Regions from separate parts of the Homo sapiens genome. Here region 1 is linked to region 2. Evidence: promoter capture Hi-C in human tissues and cell types (Jung and others, 2019). All regions are on one chromosome and are shown on one strand. Each heading gives the region's core, a stretch centred on a gene start or on the middle of the fragment in contact. The rest is flanking DNA. Distances are from core to core; before and after follow the strand shown. Region 1 has its middle 49 kb from the start of GP2. Region 2 holds the start of GP2 (glycoprotein 2).

Region 1 (5,980 bases), core at 2,955-5,454, 51 kb after region 2:
GCAGTGCCAAGCACAGGGCTGGGTACATTTGTGAGGTTTAGTAAATGTTTGGAGAAGAATGGAAAGAGGGAGGGAGAGAAGAATGAAGGAAGGAAGGAAGGGAAAGGAGGAGAGAAGGAAATTGAGAGGCTTTTTAGTTGTCATGTCTTTTTATTAAGGTATAACTTACACACTATAAAATGTACCTATTGTAATTGTATGGGTTAGTGAGTTTTAGCAATTTCTACAGTTGTGCAACCATCACCACAATCCAGTTTTAGAACTCTTCTATCACCTGCCAAATTTCTTCTTGCCTAACTGTTGTTAATTCATAGCTCCAATCCCAATGTCCTCTGATCAGCTTCCTGACTCTTTAATTTTGCCTTTTCTAGAAATTTCACATAAATAGAACCATACATTGTGTCTTTTCTAACTTGCTTTTCCCATGATGTTTCATATGGTTTGTTGTTTGTTTTGTTTTATTTCGAGGTTCATTCATGTCATTGCACGTATCAGTAGCTTGTTCCTTTGAATTGCTGAGTAGAATTCCATTGTGTGGATATACCACATTTTGTTTATCCATTTGCCATTTGATGGGTGTTTCTACTGTTTCCAGTGTTTTTTTTTTTTTTTTTTTTTTTGGCTATTATGAAGAATTGTGCCATGATTCTATGTACAAGTTTTGGTGTGGACATATGTTCTCAAATCTCTAGGGTAGACACCTAGGAGCGGAATTGCTGAGTCATACCAGATGTGCATGAGGATTTTGACGCCCTAAGGCACAGCTTTCTTTTGATGTCTCCACTGAGGCCTGCAATGCTCCAAATGCTGTAGAGGAAAATGCCTGTGAAACTCAGTTTGAGCTGCAAGCTCAGCTCCAAGTCCTAAGTGTGTGGACAATTCATTACGCTTGTGTTTGAAGTCCATTTGTAGCTGTGTTTGATGTATTGTCTGCAGGGAGACAGTGAAATTTGCCAGCCTTCAGACAAACAACTGAGCCTAATTTTTCACCCAAGGATTCTAAAGAAGTTTCTTCTTGGCAGAGGCTTGAGCAAGGCACAGTTGATGAAATTGATTGTGGCAAGATGATGTGAGAAGAGGAACACATTCTTTACTACTGAAAGATGCACATAAAAGGTGAGTAGCCCATCAGGAAGTGAACAGAATCATGAGGAAATTTGCTGGCCCCGGGGAGTTTTGGGCCTCTTTAAGTGTTCTCTGCCTCCTGTCACCTTCCCAATAGCAGAGGCCTTGAAACCTGGCCTTCAGCACCCAAGATCTCAGATCCTGCTGGGTGCATCCTAACAAATCCTTCCTTCAGGTTTTACACTTCATTACAGTGATGAAGATTATCAGGAGTTGGTGCTTGCTTGGGCTACAGGTAGTATTTGCAGAAAGCTTCCAGGCTTTCACCTCCTGCCTTGCCACCCACACTCCACTTTGCTTTGATTTCAAAGCCTTCACCCAATGAGAGATCTGACCTTCAGGTCAAAACCTCAGGGGATGGACTCTCTTGGTCCTTTTCCTATCCTAACCCATGAGAAAATGAAATGCTTACTGCAGCTCTCCTAGAAATCTTTTGTAGCATAAAATCAGTATTGGTCTTAGGATATAATTTTGGCTTCAAAAGCCAGTTTCTGATGTTTGCAATTGAACAATGCCCATTTGAAGGAGGAAAAAAAAATAGGCAGACTGAATGCAGGGCTTCTCAGAGATTTGGGTAAATAAATATTCTCTCTGATAGGCTCCAGCCTCTCTGCAAAGAAAAAGTACACCGAGAAAATGATCGGTCAAGTGGGCAGATTTTGCAGGAGTTTTTATTGTTCGTTTGTTTGAGGTAACAAGGGTTCTATCTGAGAAAAAGGCTTCACGGCTAGTGTCTGAGCCCTGAGGAGAGGGATGCTGAGGAGTGTCTGTGAGACTTGAGGGGCTCTGACAATACAGCTCTGGGGGCTCTGGGACAAAGTGGGGCACATGCAGGCAGAGAGCAGCATTTGAGTCATTTTGGCACAGCCTGCAGTGTGGCTTCTGCTCAGGAATGACAGTGGGAATGCAGCATTATCCAGTAGGACCAGACTGCAGGCTCTGGGCTAGATGACCTGGATTCAAATCCTGGCTCTGCTTCTTCTAATCAACTTGGGGCAAGTTACTTCATGTGTCTGCCCCTTGGTTTTCTCATCTGTAAAATGGGTATATTAATAGTGATTACCTCCTAAGCTTACTATGAGGGATAAATGAATTATTACATGGAGGGTGCTTTTATGGGTATAGAGAAAGGATCTGCTAAGTGCTGGCTCGTTTTGATGTTGTTGCTGTGTTGCAGATTGCCAGCTTTGAGGAGTACCCATTGACACCACCCTTGACTTCACGCATTTGTCAAGATGGCTCCAGCGGGAGCTGGTGAGACATAGCCACTGAAAAGGGACTTGGAGTATACACACTCTGAGAGGACTATCTGGGAGTTTATGTGAAACTCTATGGGTGAGAATTTGCCTAGTGCAGGGAGAGCCCAAAGACCTTCATTACACAGATGAGATGCCAGTCAGTGAAATAGGTATTACCACTATTAGTATAACCTCCTCAGACTCTCAACTTCAGGGAACTTGAGAAAATACATTACCCCCAAAGAGGCTGAGGGAAACATAATCAAAGAAAATAGTTGAATAGTTTAGCAGCTGAGAGCATAGTCATCTGTACTCCTGGGTTCAAATCCCAAATCTGCCAGTTCAAATCCCAGATCTGCCTAACTGTGTTTGGGGCAAGTTAATTAAATTCTTCTGTGCCTTAGTTTCCCCTACTACAAAATGGAAATAAAAATAATAGCCCATATTTCATAAAGTTGTTGTTGGGCTTTAAAGACATCATTAAAATAAAGCACTTAACATGGCACAGTAGCCAACAAATATTAGCAATCATAATTTTTCTCATGTAATCCAAAGGGGAAAATGACAGATACACCCACAATGCCTTCTTGTTAAAGGAAATAGCTGTGTCCTGCCAATGGAGTAGAGAGTCCTCTCATTCAACCAAAGACAAATTTCACAAACTTACTCCACCCACACTGGTCTCTTTTCAGCTCCTAGAACCTGCCAGGTTATTACCAGTTTGGGTGATCTTGCATATGCTGTTCCATCTTCCAAGAATTCTCTTCCTCCTGCTCCTCCTATGGCCCACTCCTTCTCATTATTCGAGGTTCCGTTCAATGTCAACTTCACAGACCATCTTCCCTGCCCATAGGTGTTGATATAGTTTGGCTGTGTCCCCATCCAAATCTCATCCTGAATTCCTACGTGTTGTGGGAGGGCCCCGGTGGGAGGTAATCGAATCATGGGGGCAGGTTTTTCCCATGCTGATCTTGTGATAGTAAATAAGTCTCATGAGATCTGATGGTTTTAAAAATAGGAGTTTCCCTGCACAAGCTCTCTTTGCCTGTCATCATCCATATAAGATGTGACTTGCTCCTCCTTGCCTTCCACCATGATCGTGAGGCCTCCCCAGACATGTGAAACTGTAAGTCAATTAAACCTCTTTCTTTTGTAAATTGCCCAGTCTTAGGTATGTCTTTATCAGCAGTGTGAAAACAGATTAATACAGGTATCTACAGCAGCATCCCCAAACCCACCCACATGCACACACTATGTGCTATCACATCCCCTACAAATGCCCTTCCTGGAATCCATCACGATCTGAAATGTTCTTTTGTTTTCTTATTTTCTTATTGCGGGCCTTGTTTGCTAGAATTTGCCTTTCATCTGGACAGGAATCTCTTCTATCTTGATTACCATGACACGCCCAGCAGGTTGCACAGTGCCTGCCACATAGTAGATGCTCAATAATTGTCAAACATGAATGAGCTAGAAGCCCGCAACCACTCCTGCACATTTGGAGGCTTTGGGAAGGGGCTGCCTGTTCTCAGATGATGCTACCATTTCCATAAAGCAGAGGTTGGTAAATTCTGGCCTACAAAGGCATCACATGTTTTTTGTTTTTTTTTTTCCAACCCAACCAATTCTCTGACACCAACTCGGTGTCTAACAATTCAATTCTATTTTGACTAACTATTAACTATTCAGAATTAGTGCAGACCCCACAGCTCAAGAGCTTAGTTCCTCAAGACTGCCCCCAGTGCAGACACCAGCCACAAATCGGGTGTCCAAGTTACCTACACTGCTGCCCAGACAACTACAAATTCAGGGGTTCCCACAACCTTCCATCAGGTTCAATAATCATTAGAATGACACAGAACTCAGAAGGGCACTTTATTTACATTTGCTGGTTTATTATAAAGGGTACGTATCAGGAATAAGCAAATGAAAGATTGCACAGGGCAAGGTATGGGAATGATGGGGTGGCATAGAGCTTGCCTGCCTTCCCCAAGTGCACCACCCTCTCAGCACATCAATGTGTCCACCAACCCAGAGGTTCCCTGAATCTCACTGATTAAGAGTTTTTATAACTCAATCTTCAGTCCCCCTCCCCACCCCCAGACATCAGTGAGTAGGGATGAAAGTCTCCCCCAACACAATCACATGTAGTCTTTTTGGTGCCCAGCCCCCATTCTGAAGCTATCTAGGGGCTCCACTCTGAATCATCTCATTAGTATAAACTCAGGCATAGTGGAAAAGGGCCCACTGCCTGTTTGTGTAAATAAAGTTATAGTGAAATATAGCCACACCCATTTGTCTGTACATTGTCTATAGTTGCTTTCATGCTTTAATAAGATTGGCATACTCACTACAGAAATTGCATGGCCTACAAACCTGAAAATATTTACTCTCTGTCCTATTGCAGAAAAGTTCGCTGACTCCTGTCCTAGAAGATGGACCCCCAAGAATGTCTGAACACTAATAGCAGCTGCTGGACAGGTGAGTACCCAGAACAAATCTTGGGAAATGCTTGAGGGAAATGTGGCAGGGATGGAGGCTTCTCCATTGTGCATCTCATGGAGAATCTGAAGACCCCTGGGGACTAAGATCAAGCCAGTGGGCTAGAAGGTCTGCTCAGCCAAAGATGGCTCCGGCCCCCACACTGTACATTCCCTGTCACTTGTTACCCCCACCCCACACATACACTTAAGCATGTGTTTCCATCCCAATGCCTAAAGGATGCTGTTCATTTCCCCCTTCCCATTTGATTCCTACCCATTCTTCAAAGCTTAACCCTGCAATGTAGCGAATAAACAATTTTAAGAAGCTCCAACTATGTCCCAGGTACTGAACTTCTTTCTTCTCATGGAATTTCAGTGCAGAGTGGAAGACGGATTAGAAACCAAGTAACTACAACACTTCCCAGTAAGGGCTACACTAGGAGCATCCTGGGGCCCTGGGAGCACTGAAAAGCAGTACCTACCCCAACTCTGGGGAATCAAGGAAGACTTCCTGGAGGTGGGGAGATCTGAACTAAGTTCTGAAAGGAATGAGCCAAGCAAGCAGATTAGAAGAGGGTGGTAGGAACAGCACGTGCAAGGCCCAGAGTAGGAGAAAGAGCAGAGCTGCAGGAATCAGCAGAGAGGCAGAGTGGAAGCTGCTCAACCACAGGCCTGTTCTGAGCTCATAGGGCTTCTTTCTACAAATGGAGTGATGAGATGTGCAGGAAGAGGATTTTGGGGAAACTGGTAAATGATGTGGTTTCTGTTTGTGTTTCATCAGCTCAATTGTAAGCCCTTCATGGGCAGGGACATTGTTTCATTTTTTGTTTGTTTGTTTGTTTGTTTGTTTTTGAGACAGAGTCTCACTCTGTTGCCCAGACTGGAGTGCAGTGGCGTGATCTTGGCTCACTGCAACCTCCACCTCCCGAGTTCAAGCAATTCTTCTGCCTTGGCCTCCTGAGTAGCTGGGATTACAGGTGTGCGCCACCATGCCTGGCTAATTTTTGTATTTTTAGTAGAGACAGGATTTCACCACATTGGTCAGGCTAGTCTCGAACTCCTGACCTTGTGATCTGCCTACCTCAGCCTCCCAAAGTGCTGGGATTACAGACGTGAGCCACCACACACAGCGAC
Region 2 (5,615 bases), core at 1,069-3,568:
ACTCTGGACAGGGCGCAGAGGCTCAGGTCTGTAATCCTGGCACTTTGTGGGGGCAAGGCAGGAAGATAATTTAAGCCAAAATGTTTAAGACCAGCCTGGGCAACATAGCAAGATGCTGCCTCTACAAAACAGTTTAAAAATTAGCCAGATGTGGTGGCCTACAACTGTAGTCCCAGCTATTCAGGAGGCTGAGGTGGGAGGATTATTTGAGCCCAGGAGATCAAGGCTGCAGTGAGCCTATGATCACGTGACTGCACTGTAGCCTGGGCAACAGAGCAAGACTCTTGCTAAAAAAAAAAAATTACCTTCATAAGGAATGGTGGCCCGAATTTGGATTGGTGAGGTGGAGATGGAGAAGAAAGGATTATTGGAAATGGGAGCAGAGGGAGAAAGGAAGGAGCTTAGAAAGGAAGAGGCCAAGTTTCCAGCTTGGATGACTGGGAGGCAAGTGGCACCTTTGATTAAAATAGATCATACAATGAGGAGGAGAAGATTTAGGTGACTTGATGAGCTCAGAGTTGCACTTGCTGAGTTTGAGGTGTCTCAAGCATCTCAGCGGCAGTGAGAGGTCCAGCAATCAATAGGTAGATGGAACTGAAGTTCAAGGGAGTAGCGAAAGCTGGGGATACGGATTCAGAACTCACCAGCCTGGAGATGGTATGTGAAACCATGAGATAACTTGATACCTCCCAGGGAGAGTTTATGACGTGAAAAGAAAAATGGGACCTAACCAGCATTCTTAGAGACAGGATCTTGTAGCAACAGAGCAGAAATCTCCAGGTAGAAACAGGAGAATCAAGAAAATATGAACATGCGGAGTCAAGGAAATGCAAGGTACCCGGAACAAGCAGTAGGCAAATCCAATCACAAAGGAGCAGAAACAAACTACCCAGTGGATTTGGCTATAAAGTTGTAGCTACATGGTTCAGATTGGAATGGAGAAGCCAGAAGAGGGATGGAGGAACTGACTTTGAAAAGGAGGAACATCGCCTTATCAGAAGTTGGAGGGGGAAGGGGTGGAGGATGGAGACCAGTATTTATATGTTTACAGGGGAAGGAGCAAGGTCAGGTGTTGTGGCCTAAATTGTTTTTGAAGTAGGGTACCAGATATCTGCTGAGAAAGGTGGTGTGAGTGGGTGATAATAGCTGCAGAGACCATTTAAGAGGAATGGGAAGGTTAAGAGTGGCCACTGGGGAGACTGGGATGGGCACCTGGCCAGACTGAATGGATCAGTAGGTGATTTAGTGGGCCCAGTTGTCACAAGTTCCACATTTTAGAGACTATTTATTCTCCAGTTGCTCTGGGAGTAGAGAAGGTGGCTTGTAGCACCTTTTCTTTTTCCAGGTTGAGGTTTTGTAGAAGGTGTTACCAATGCCAAGACCCTCCTGCTCCCTTGACTCCAGTTGCCTTGGCTCCTTAAGGAGTCCCAGAGTGACAGAGAAGAAGCAGTGGCCATTTTTTCTGCAAAAGCTTTGGCTCTTTTATGAAGTCCATGATTTCTACCATGTCATGAAAGCCAGGTCCAAGCCTGGAGTTAATAAGTCCAAGATCCTCTACAGCCTCTTCTCAGTCTCATGCCTTCCAATCTCTAGGGCAGCCTACATATCAAAAGGGATTTACAGGGGCTACTCTGGTGCTTCTTTTGTCCAAGAACCTTTGTCTGTCCTTTGCCATTCCAAAATCCATCATCACCAAATTAGCCATTCCAAAACTGCTCAGCATTAGAAATCCGGAGTTGGGTAGATTCTATGGACCAATAAATGGAATTTTTCGAAACATCCACACTCCCTTCTTTCCTTTCCTATGTGTCCTCTTAGTCTAACTGGCCCCAAGCTCAGTGGCCTTCAGACAGAAGCAGAAATGTTCCAAGATGATTAGCTAGGAACACAAGGTACAACTGAAAATCCATTGTGCAAACAAGTGCCTGTTTGATTTTCTCTTCACTTCCCTTTGGGTATTAAGCTTCCTTTCAATTCGTGTTTGGTTTCTGGTAATAAATATGGCACCAGTTTCATTGATTAATTATGAAGATTAAATGTGAGAAGTCAAGAACGCAAAGCAGTGCCCAGCATGTTCAGCATTCAGCACACAGCACTATTGTTTGTAGGAAGCATTCGCACAATGCTGAGACAGCTGGAAGGGTTGACATTGTGAGGGGAGGGCCCTTCTTTCACCATCCTTTGCGTAAATGGCTTATCTCACCTCCACTCAACAAGCCCAGTGTATGGCCTAGAACTCCCATCATACCTGTGCACCAATTGAGGAGAGACACATGGGTGGGAAATTGCAATAAAAAGACGGCCCACAGCAGGCTGCATTCCCATGGCTGGCCAGAGGAGGAACGCTTTGTGTTCTCATCGGAGGTAAGTCCTGCTTTAAGCCCCAGGAGGCTTCCTCCTAATCCTGGGAAATCTTGATCCACTGGACATGCTAGGATTCTTTGTTTCTGGAAATTTTTAGAACCCAGCAAGTAGTTTGGACCCTGGCCATTGTCAAGTGCTCCAGGTACCACTCTATGTCCAACTCAGTCATGCTTCCAGTCATCTGCGATGCTCCAGGCCTACGGACGCCACCCTCTTCCTTGTCCCAGATATTCCCACCAGGGAACTAGGTCTCTATTGGGATCTCATCTCTAAGAATCACCAATCCTGGGTGCTTCCCTATCCCTGCTGTCTCATAGCATACTCATGGTATCCCTGCCCGAAACCGATCTCTATTTTCCACTGAAGTCTTCCAGAGGTTGTAGGAAGTTATCCAAAGATTTGGCCATTTAGGGAAAGTATTTCCCAGAAAAGTAAATGCCATCCAAATGCTGGCAGGCTTTTTTGCAGCTCTTTCTTTCTGCCTCGCCACCGCCCCCAACCCCCATTGATTTATTTATTCATCCTTAATCCTCTACTGAGTACTCCTTGTGTGCCAGATTCTGTACTAGGAGCAAGGAACATGAGGCTCGGTTTGGCATGGTTCCACAGTCACAGAAATCTACATCCATAGAGGACATTTCAGGGGGCTCTTAGCAGCACCCAATGCATAAAACTAAGAAAGGGCAGCCATTACTTTTGTGTGCAGGTATTCACAGGTACCATATCCCTTTTTCTCTATCCAATCTCCAAAGAGCCTCTACTTCCACCTGAGCAGGGACCATCCTGAGACCTTTCTAGGACATTCTGCAGTACTAGCCAGCTCTAAGCTTGCCTTTGGTTTGCTTACTGTCAATTTTATCACCCATTATCTCGCTCTATCTGTCCATAAGTCACACCTACTTTGAAACAATGCAGCTCTTTATGAAGGAAGTCAACGGATCTGTTTCTAAGAACATAGACCTATGCCCTAATCTTATCTTGGTCTTTTCTTTCCCATAGCTGCATGGGAAGTCTGCATACAGCAAAGTGACCTGCATGCCTCACCTTATGGAAAGGATGGTGGGCTCTGGCCTCCTGTGGCTGGCCTTGGTCTCCTGCATTCTGACCCAGGCATCTGCAGTGCAGCGAGGTAAGTATTCTGCTCACCTGGCATCTCAGATGTCAAGGAAGACCTAGCAAGTGAGGATAGAAGTGCAGAGAAGGTGGCTCAGGTAAGGAAGAGGAATTGGCAGTTCTAAAGCAAAAACTCAGAGCTAGAAGTCAAGGGAAACATAATGAGAAACAATGGAAATCAAGTCACAATCTCTCAAAGAGCCTAATCAGAAATTCCTCTGAAAGGGCAGTGGGAGCCAGTTAACATAATTTCCCATGCCCATATCTTTGGGAGATTAGAGACCCCAGATTAAAGAAGATCAAGAAATACATAACTCAGTCACCTTGTGCTGGCAAGTGCCTTCTCCTTTTCCTGAAAGGGCTAGATTAAGTGATCTCTTTATGAAGTGGGCAATTCAGATACTTGCAGAAAGGAGTCTCAGGCTTAGAATTAGAGTGCAAATTTCAGCCCCTGGAGGAGGGTGGGAGAGGGTACTGAGCTCATTGGAGGCCTCCAGTGGAAAAATACAATCTAAGAATAACAAATGCAGTGATTCCTTGTCTTAAAATAAGTACATGCATGAGCAAAGTTTGAAAATCTTTTTTTCTGAAAGGCCCTTCTAATGTGTATTATAAGCATGTGCAAAGCTTGAAAATCTCTTTTTTTTAGAAAGCCCCTTTAATGTGTATTGTAAGCACATGATCCTGTGTGTGCACTTAGCTCCTTCTTCAGGCATCTACAGCATTCAACAAAATAGAACTAGAGAAGACAATTAGCTTGACCCTGGTGCTGTGCTTGGCATTTTACACATATTATCACATTTAATCCTCTAACAATCGTTTAAGGCTTTCTTTCCCCAAATGAGGTGTATATATTCCAAGATGGTTCTGGGGGTGCCTGGCAAACTCTTAACAAGTTTTTAATGGCTGTATGTTTATTTTTTATGCACATCTAAAAAATATAACTAGCACATGATATCTATGTTATCACAGATATTATTCTTTAAGATGAAACTAATTCTTAAAAGATAATCATTGAAAGAAACATTTTAAGTCAATAATAGGACAGGCAAACACATGTATGACAAAGGTCATGACCCAAAGCGTAGGAACGGATAAAGTTTGAGAACCACTGGTTCACAGGTGTGGTTTTGCCAATGAGTCTCAGGGGACTTAAGTCACCTGCCAAGGTCACCCAGCCAGCAGGTGTAGAATTGGATTTAAACTCAGCCTGACCAGCCTGTGGTCTTCCTCCTTCACTTCTCTGCCTCTTCATACATCACAGTTTCTAAAACTGTTTTTAAAAATGGTAGATCAACAATCAGAAATGGTCTTGTTAGATCAGTGGTTCTCAACTGGGGGCGATGCCCCCCAAGAAGACATTTGGCAATGCCTGGAGACCACTTTGGGGCATGCTGGTGGGATCTGGTAGGTAGAGGTCAAGGATACTCCTAAACATTCTATAATGCACAGGATGGCTCCTCCAGTGAAGAATGACCTAGCCAAAATGTCAATAGTGCCAAGGTTGGGAGTTCTTGCAATAGACTGTGCTACTGGTATGGAAAAATGTCTATGTTATATTAAGTAAAAAATGCAAGTGGAAAAAAAGATGTTGCACAGAATTAAACTTATTTTTATTTTTAAGAAAGCAATATATTTTAAACTTGCCTAAGAAGAAGGCTATATTACAAATTTATTGTTACTTCTGGGGATGAGATGGGCTTATGACAACTTTCATTTCTGCTTTATTAATTTTAATGATGTTTGAGGTTCTTTTTCAGTGAGCCTGTATTACATTTATAATGAGAAAAACAAATATTGGTCAAACAAGGCTGCTGTTTGCATGATGCACAGGAAAGAACTTTGTTACTCTGAGGCAGGGAGGGAGGCTGTGCAGGACGGTAGCCCTGATGTCCTCAATGCCTGTAAAATACCACAGAAGGTCCTCACTGATTATTCTGCCCCCAAGGTGATGAAGTTGATGTTTAATTAATGGACCGTGTGTGTATTGTCCTCATTGGAGTCCTTAGCACAGCCAAAATAGAGCATGGAGGGGAAAAAATCCTGTAGGTTCTGGCATTGCTCAGTAAACCCAACTGCACTCTGTCACTTTCCCAGGTTATGGAAACCCCATTGAAGCCAGTTCGTATGGGCTGGAC

What was found. The method cuts DNA at HindIII sites, captures the fragments that hold promoters and counts their contacts. A contact is called where the count stands out against the background at its distance.
Region 1: a fragment that was not itself captured here is called in contact with the fragment with the promoter of GP2 in region 2 in 2 of the 25 tissues and cell types used here (dorsolateral prefrontal cortex and pancreas).

Annotation. Positions count from the first base shown.
Region 1 is chr16:20,275,196-20,281,175 of GRCh38, reverse strand. No RefSeq gene overlaps it. Among named protein-coding and RNA genes, the nearest start is that of GP2, 49 kb to the left of the region's middle. The HindIII fragment of the contact is 4,833 bases long and covers 1,788-5,980 here.
Region 2 is chr16:20,324,216-20,329,830 of GRCh38, reverse strand. It overlaps GP2 (glycoprotein 2), which reads left to right and starts at 2,318. Exons shown (of 11, transcript NM_001502.4): 1 at 2,318-2,364; 2 at 3,364-3,493; 3 at 5,575-5,615. The coding sequence starts at 3,400. The HindIII fragment of the contact is 1,931 bases long and covers 1,718-3,648 here.